Regions from separate parts of the Homo sapiens genome. Here region 2 is linked to region 1. The links are contacts of gene promoters, found by promoter capture Hi-C in human tissues and cell types (Jung and others, 2019). All regions are on one chromosome and are shown on one strand. Each heading gives the region's core, a stretch centred on a gene start or on the middle of the fragment in contact. The rest is flanking DNA. Distances are from core to core; before and after follow the strand shown.

What was found. The method cuts DNA at HindIII sites, captures the fragments that hold promoters and counts their contacts. A contact is called where the count stands out against the background at its distance.
Region 2: a fragment that was not itself captured here is called in contact with the fragment with the promoter of MYO1B in region 1 in 1 of the 25 tissues and cell types used here (liver).

Annotation. Positions count from the first base shown.
Region 1 is chr2:191,243,285-191,247,302 of GRCh38, forward strand. It overlaps MYO1B (myosin IB), which reads left to right and starts at 2,120. Exons shown (of 31, transcript NM_001130158.3): 1 at 2,120-2,342. MYO1B-AS1 (MYO1B antisense RNA 1) reads right to left here and starts at 2,891. Exons shown (of 4, transcript NR_186085.1): 1 at 2,635-2,891; 2 at 336-789. RefSeq lists an enhancer at 2,006-2,628 and a silencer at 2,041-2,430. The HindIII fragment of the contact is 14,933 bases long and covers 1-4,018 here.
Region 2 is chr2:191,286,586-191,290,603 of GRCh38, forward strand. The region is part of intron 2 of MYO1B (myosin IB); the gene reads left to right. Among named protein-coding and RNA genes, the nearest start is that of MYO1B-AS1, 42 kb to the left of the region's middle. The HindIII fragment of the contact is 7,493 bases long and covers 1-4,018 here.

The sequences.
Region 1 (4,018 bases), core at 870-3,369:
TTTGAAAAGCTGAACTGGACAGTAGAGGTCAGAAGTTCCATGAACTGCCAAACTGCTATAAGCAGTCACTTGGGAACCTAAACTCAGACAAGCAAAATGGAGAAGTGAGTCTAACACACGTCACCAGGTAGCAGGTTCATATGTTGCCTATTGTGAAGGCTGGGATCTCCAGGGTTTTCATTATGCTAGGTTATCAAGGTCTGAGGTAGTGTGCTTGATAGTGAAGACTATAGAGTCAGACTATCTGGGTTCAAATTCCAGCTCTGTCACTGTTCTAGGTGTCTATTGCTATGTAACAACCACCCAGATGACAATCTTTTATTATTATCACTTACGTTTCCGGGGCCTGATTTGGCTCAGCTAGGTTTTCTCTCTAGGTCTCTCAGGCAGCGTGGTCAGTGACTGTGGCTGGAGTTCTTTCAAAAGCTCGCCAACTCACATGCTTGATATAAGTTGTACTGGCAGTAGACCAGGTCCTCAGCTGGCACCATCAGCCCAAACACCTACACATGGCCTTCCCTGTGGCTTGAGCTTCCTCACAATATGGCAGCTGGGTTCCAAGGGTGAGTGTCCCAAGGGAGAGCCAGGTGAAAACTTCATCTCCTTTTATGACCTAGGTTTGGAAGTCACATAGCATCACATCTGCTGTATTCTATTTGTTACAATCAAATCACTAAGTCCAGACCATATTCAAAAGGAGGGCAATTAATATCCACTCTCTAATGGGAGTCTTCAAACCACCATAGCCATGTATTCCCTGAAGACCTCTCTGTCCTTGGCTTTGCTGGTCTGTAAAACAAGGATAATGAGAGAAACTTACCTCAGAGCTTTTTGTGAGGATTAAACAAAGAACAGTCCCTGGTACCCAGTATGTGTTAGTTTCGCCCATTATCACACCACTTGTACATCTGAAGTGATGCTGATGGTGACATCAATGATGAGACAGTTCCCAGCAGATATAGTCTGTGAAGGTCCCACCTTTCCAAACTCTACTAGTGGCATTTAACAAATCCCAGCGCCTGTGGTTCTTATGCCAGTGGGAACAGTTACTATATATGGTCTGAATTCTTTGGTTCACCTCACTTTAGTGACAGTTTCCAGATACAGGTCAGTCCATTTAAACCTGGCCCATTTATGGCAATTTATTTCATTATAGGATAAAGTAGTTAGAACCATGAGTAATAATTACTGTGTCTACAGTGCTTTTAACACCTCAGCCAAGTAATCCTCATCTCACCCAGTGAGTAAGTTTGAATGCGCACCCTTCCCTGTGCGAGGATGAAGAAACCAGGACCTGGGTCAAGAGGATTGTTCTAAATTCTCCAATGAGGCAATAGGGCTTGAGTGAGAAGGTGTGTGTGTGTGTGTAGGGGGGGTGTCCTGATTCTCTGGCCCCTACATGCCTGTATAATATACCCCATCACTGATCATTACTCAGGACCTGTTAATACACTCTATTCAAATACGTATGGGTATTTGAAATTTCTTTTAAACTACCTCTCATGTATTTATAACACAAAGAATTGGCCAGTGTCTATTTCCCACAATGTGAGATTAAGTAATTTAAAAGATACTAAAAGTCTTGTAAATGAAGACACACCACACCACTCAGTATAATTTTTTTCTTTTTCTGTGAAACTAATATTTTCTGATATTCTCGGCATCCAAAAATTTTCATCTTGGGGAGGAGGAAAAATTGAGACTTACTCCCACTGTTTGCCGGAATGTGACCCCAGGCTGGCTTCGAGTTGTCAAATGTTGTATTTCTCATTTTATGTCAGTGAGTCTGGAAGCAAAAAAGGTAGAAAGACTGCCTTCCGTGGGGGCCGCGACGATCGCCCCTCCTTCCCTCAAGCCTCGTCCCATCCAGGCTCGCCCCGGGTGCGGAGGGTCGGGCCGCAAACCCGCAAGGCGCGGAGGCCGCCGCGACGCTCACCGGGGGGCGCTGTGAAGCCGGCACCGGGCGGACAGAGGTGAGTCGGCTCGGAGGCGGTGGCTCCCGTTCCTGCCCGCGCGCCGAGGGGCGAATCCCAGGCAGCGAGGTCGCCGCCCCCGCCCCTCGGCCGGCCCCTCCGCCAGCGGGCGAGAGGGGAGTGGCCGGGCTCCTCCCGCCGCCGCTGAGCACTCCGCAGCTGGGTGCGCACGGGAGCCTCAACCGCGGCGCGTGGAGGCAGTACCAGAGCGCGCGGCGCGCAGTCGGCCGGCAGCCGCGGGACAGCCTTGGCAGAACAGCCGCGGCGGGAGCCCCGCAGCCCCGGGCTGGGCCCGCGTCCCGGAGCGCCACCGGAGAGCGAGGACGACGTGGAGGCGGAGTGGCGCCCGGCGAGGTAGCGCCAGGCGAGGTAGCGCGAGCGCTTTCTCTCTCTCTCCCCTGCCCTTCCCTCTGCGTCCGTCGTCGGCCCCCGAGGCGCCTGCTCCGCGCCTTTGTGCCCGCGGTCCCTGGCCCCGTCGCACCCTGCGGGCGGGGGTCAGCGGGCTCTGCCGCTCTCTTGGGAGACGCGGCGCTGCGGCGGGAACGGCGCACGCTGTAGGTTGCGGAGGGTGGTCGTGACTCCGCAGTGGCTTCGGGGGTGGCGGGAGGGAAGAAGGGCTTGTAAACTAAGTTGCTCTTACTTTGCCCCATGCCTCTCGTACCTGTGGGCAGAGTCGAATCTCGGCTGTCCTCGTGTTCACCCACAGCCCCTCCATTCCTCTGGCCCACAGCTGTTTCCTGGCCCCCTGGAAAGACACGGTGTGGCTTCCTCCGGGCAGGAAAGCGGAGGGAGAACAATGGGGCGTCCTGGGGAGTGGGGTTCAGGTGCGGTGTGCCCCGGCGGCGGCGGGGGAGGAGGGGCCCGGGACGCTGTGGGCCTCCCTGCGCGTGCAGCTGCGCTCGCCTCCTTTGTTCCGCCGCAGCGGAGGGGGTTGCCCTGGGTCTCGTTTCCTGCCCGGGATGGGATTGATTCACGGTCCCAGAGAGGGAAGGGGAAGGGGGCGGGGCTGGAATGGAAACCAGATTAGAGACGGGAGCTACGAAGGGTGGTGGGGCCGGGAAGAGAGTTGGGGAGAGGGTTGGGAGAGGGTGATGAGAGCGCGCTGGAGAGGTAACTACAAACACACAACATTTTGTTCAAGGGCCATGTGAGTTTCTAGAGCTTATTTGTAGTGCTTTGTTCAGGCTTCGGCCCAGCGTTTATTGCTGCAACAAGTTGTGTGCTTCTTGAGTTTCTAGGCGTTCCCAATGTTAGATTGCTCAAAGCAAATCTTCTTAGTTACAGTGAAAGAAGCCCCCCCCCCTTTTTTTTTGAGATTTGAAAAAATTTTGCTATGAACTATGGTATTGGTGTGTATGTGTGTGCCTCTGGGTCTGTGTGTGTAGCTAGTGGATATTGGCTGGAATGGGTAGGAGACAAATTTTATAGAATCAATTTTGACGTAAAATTGTTTTATAGTATAATATAGTACAACAGTTTTCCAGGACTGTTTGAGGGCAGAAACCACCAGAAAATTAGACATTGCTATAAATAAATGAATCAGACTATGTAACACAATTGAAAAACCCTTTTACAGTCTGTCCCAGGAAACACACCACACACACCAGCGTTTGGGGTTTGAACTGAGGAGCCCTGGCATTGAAGTGTTCTGTGCTTTCACTCTCTGTGTGAGGATCGTTTAGAGGTGGTAGAATTAAATGTAATGTGTCAGACATTTGTTAAGTGACCTTTCCTAGATTGGAATCGAGACTCGCCAAAGGATTGGCTGACCTAGGGAGGGAGCTATGGGGGATTGAATGATGTGTGTTTTTTGAATGGGGTATTCCAAGCAAAACTGTTTTGGGAGGAGGCTGACATTTCCAGGCATTCATGGTTTGTGCCTGTGGGACACTGGTGGGAGGATTCCCAAAGTCGGACTGAAGGTTAGCATTACTGTGGTGATAATTTAGGAGACATTCTGTTGTAGTAGTCTGGCTGCAGACAGGGCTGGGAAGTGGCCCAGAGCTGCCTCTTTGACAAGCTGAGGGTCCGCCATTAAACCACCC
Region 2 (4,018 bases), core at 1,081-3,580, 44 kb after region 1:
ATTAAGACATACCTTATGTGCTTATCTGAAAATTCATCAATTTCCTGTATACAAAGACCATTTTGGGTTGGGTGCCGTGGCTAATGCCTATAATCCCAGCACTTTGGGAGTCTGAGGCGGGCCGATTGCTTTAGTCGAGGAGTTCGAGACCAGCCTGGGCAACATGATGAAACCCCGTCTCTACCAAAAATACAAAACTTAGCCAGGATTGGTGGCATGTACCTGTAGTCCCAGGTATTCAGGAGGCTGAGGTGGGAGGATGGCTTGAACCTGGGATCGGGGCTGCAGTGAGCCAGGATCGCACCACTGCACTCCAACCTGGGTGACAGAGCTAGACCCTGTCTCAAAACACAAAACAAAACAAAACAGACCATTTTGTAAAAGTTTTTAAGACGCTGGTGTGGTAGGACTCATTAATGAATTTAGCCATGGTATTAACATATTTTATGTAGACTTTCAAGTCCTGATTTGGCTCTTTACAGTAGCCAATAGATTCCAGTAGAGCCCAGCTAAATTTATATAATTATAATAGGTAATATTTATGGAATGCTTGCTGTGGGTCAGGTGCTGTGTTTGATGTTTTGACACACAACCTCATTTAATCCTCAGAATTAGATGAGGGAGGAGCTAGTATGCTTCTTGTAAAGATGAGGAAACTCAGGCCAGGCGCGGTGGCTCACGCCTGCAATCCCAGCAAGTTGAGAGGCCGAGGTAGGCGGATCACCCGAGGTCAGGAATTCAAGACTAGCCTGGCCAACATGGTGAATCCACCTCTCTACTAAAAATACAAAAAAATTAGCTTGGCGTGGTGGCGGGCACCTGTAATCCCAGCTACTCGGGAGGCTGAGGCAGGAGAATTGCTTGAACCAGGGAGGTGGAGGTTGCAGTGAGCCAAGATCGCGCCATTGTACTCCAGCCTGGGCAACAAGAGTGAAACTCCGTCTCAAAAAAAAAAAAGGTGAGGAAACTGGGATGTGGAAAAGTTAAATAATGTGCCCACGTTCACACAAAACTAGAGAATTTTGCCAGCTAATTTGGAGCCAAGACTTACACAATATTTCAAATACATTGAAGAATTATTATTATGAAATGACATAGGTAGAATCTGAGTAAAGAGCTTAAATACTATACTTAGGTCAGAATGATGTGGGTTCAAATCCCATCAGTTTCATCATCTAAGCCCCTCATCCCCCACTGACTTTTCACTTCAAAACTGCTTTTGGACTCAAGCTCAGACTGCTTACGTGAAGTTCAAAGGCTCTCTACAGTTTGATCTCAGTCTTTTTTTTTTTTTTTTCCTGGCTTTAGCAAGAATTTTTTATTCCAGTCGTAACTACTCAGGGGATGTCTTTGTTTTAGGGAAGCTGTTCCATTCTCTGTCTTTGGTATGTGCTTGGGTAGGCCTTTGTGCCTCTGTCTGTGTTTTAATCTGTATTCTAGCATGTGTCAGAATTCCCTTCCTTTTTAAGGCTGAACAGTGTTCCATTGTACGTATCTACATTTTATTTATCTATTCATCTGTCGCTGGACACTTGGGTGACTTCCTCCTCTTGGGTATAGTGAATAATGCTGCTATAAACATGGGTGTGCAGATATCTGTTTGAGTCCCTGGCAAATTGTACTTAAAAAAATATATTTTGAAGAAGATAGCTTAGCTTAAAAAAAAAAAAAAGAAGAAAGAAAGGTGGTGGCTGGGCGGCATTCAGCTATCACCTGAAACCTAACGTCTTATGTCACTCTTTGGGGGGAACTTTGTCCAAATCATGCCCATCTTTTTAGACCGCTCAAGCTGTCTGTCTTCTCTGGAGCTTTCTCGGACCTCTGCAGTTCATAGTGACCTTTCTTTATATAACCCTGGAGCACTCATTAGACAGTAAAATAATCAGACTAATGGCTCATTTAGCCAGGAATCACATCCTGTTTCATCTGTTTTAATGTCTAGAGAAGTTAACTCTTAAATTTTATGTTTCTCTATCTAAAAGACTCACTTCCTAAGCTATATTATAAACTTCCCAGGCACACAGACACTGGGAGCTTTGTATTTTTCCTACCATGCCCAGCATGATGTTTTGCATAAAGTTAGCCCTTAATAAATTTGTTGCTTGCATGTAAAATGGTTTGTAGCCTAAAATCACTCTATCAGTCAGTGCGATTGTGCAGCCTTGTGATGGGTTATTCTTACCTGAATCCTGGCCCATCCTGGATTTGAACTATAGATTGGTGCAAAAGCAATTGTGATTTTTGCGTTGGAAGTAATGGCAAAAACTGCAATTACTTTTGCACCAGCCCAATACTTTAGAGGCAAAAGTAACATGACTTGGAGACCCTTGGAGATGCAGACGACTCCTATACCTTCTCTGATATTTCTTTGATGTTATTTTAGACTAATTCGTATTAAGATATTTAAATAAATATTGCCTTTTACATCACCACATTCCTGATTTATTTCTCTGAAGTTAAAGAATGATTACGATTGAATCTTTTCTGGTGAGAGCAAACATTTTCCCTATAACTAGAAGATCTTTTCCTTTTCTGTTTTGTTTATTCCTGGCGGTAGAAGGATTTCTCAGGTGGTAAAATGGGAGGCTTTTGCCTAACAGAGTAGCGCTTTATTACACAAAGGTTGAAGATGCTTTATATGGCATTGTGCAACACAAGTTTCCTCCGTTCTTCTTGCGTGCTTTTTACCAAAGCTTCCCAGGCCTAACAGACGGCATGGATTGTATGCTCTAATGAAAAGAGAACAGATTCTTGTCTCCTTGTCTTGATTTCACTTCTGCTAGCTAATGTGGTCGTATCACTTAACTTCTTTGTGCTCCTTTGTTATGGACATTAAGATAGAGAATTTGTATCTATCTCTTGGGGATTTGGGAGTAGTTTAGTAGAAAGGTGTGTATGTGTATATTCTATGCCAGCTGTTCAATAGGTTGAGGATGAGTTTTTAAGGAACTCCAGAGACATGTAAACAAATAACTGAAATTCATCCTGAAGAAAATAAGGAAGCAGGTAGGTAGACAGATTGGATGCCTAGTTAGAGCCCAGCAAACAGAGGCTTTAAAAATAGATTTTGAGAGAATTCGATATTTCAAAAAAAGCATCAAAGTACATGATGGCAAAAATAGGTCATTATGGGATTTTCTTACATGTATTTTATGGTGTAGTTATACATTTTAATATCATATGAGAAACTGAAATGTAAACCTTCAGGATTTAGGGCTTCTAAAGATCTCTATCTTACCCTGGGAAGAATTATGATATAAAAGATATTAAAACTATTCTGACTTTTTAGAAGAAGTTTTATATACAGACTTGGAAATATTCTGACTGTTCTGTGTATGTGTGCTAATGTTTCATTTATCTGCCTTTGCGAAGGAATGTTACACATTATTGAGACTTACATAATATTAAAGCTGTGCTAAAATATTTAACTTTTTGGTTAGATATCATTCTAAAATGTATTGCATATATCCTTGTCATCAAAAACAGAATACACTGATTTTGGCTGTTGATTATTACCCTACGTTCCCAATTAGTGCCATAATAAAGCAGTCAGGGCCGGCTAAGCCATGGGGCTCTTGGGTCTTACTATAAATATTTTTATACTTTGATAATTATCTTCATCACTTCTTACTTATTTTCTTTCTTTCTTTGTCCCTCCCTACTCTTCCTTTTCTATTAGTGGCCATTGTTTCTCTGCTTGCAGAGGGAGTCTTAACCTGGTATATCACATGTATGCAGACTTCAATGTGCATGTGTGTTTTTCCAAGGAGAAGAGTCATTGCTTCCGCTGGTGTCTCAAAGGGATCAACAATTGAAGAAAGGTTAAGGAGTGCTGTGTAGCACAATTTTTTAAACTGCAAGTTTCATATCATTAATTGCTCATGAAAATCATTTAGTGGGTTAGGGCCAACAGTTTTTAAACATTTTGTAAAAAATATTAGAATCGAACAAAAAATATCAATGTATCACATATAGTAAAGGGTACTTTTGGTTTTGTGAAGTTTTTATCTTGTATATG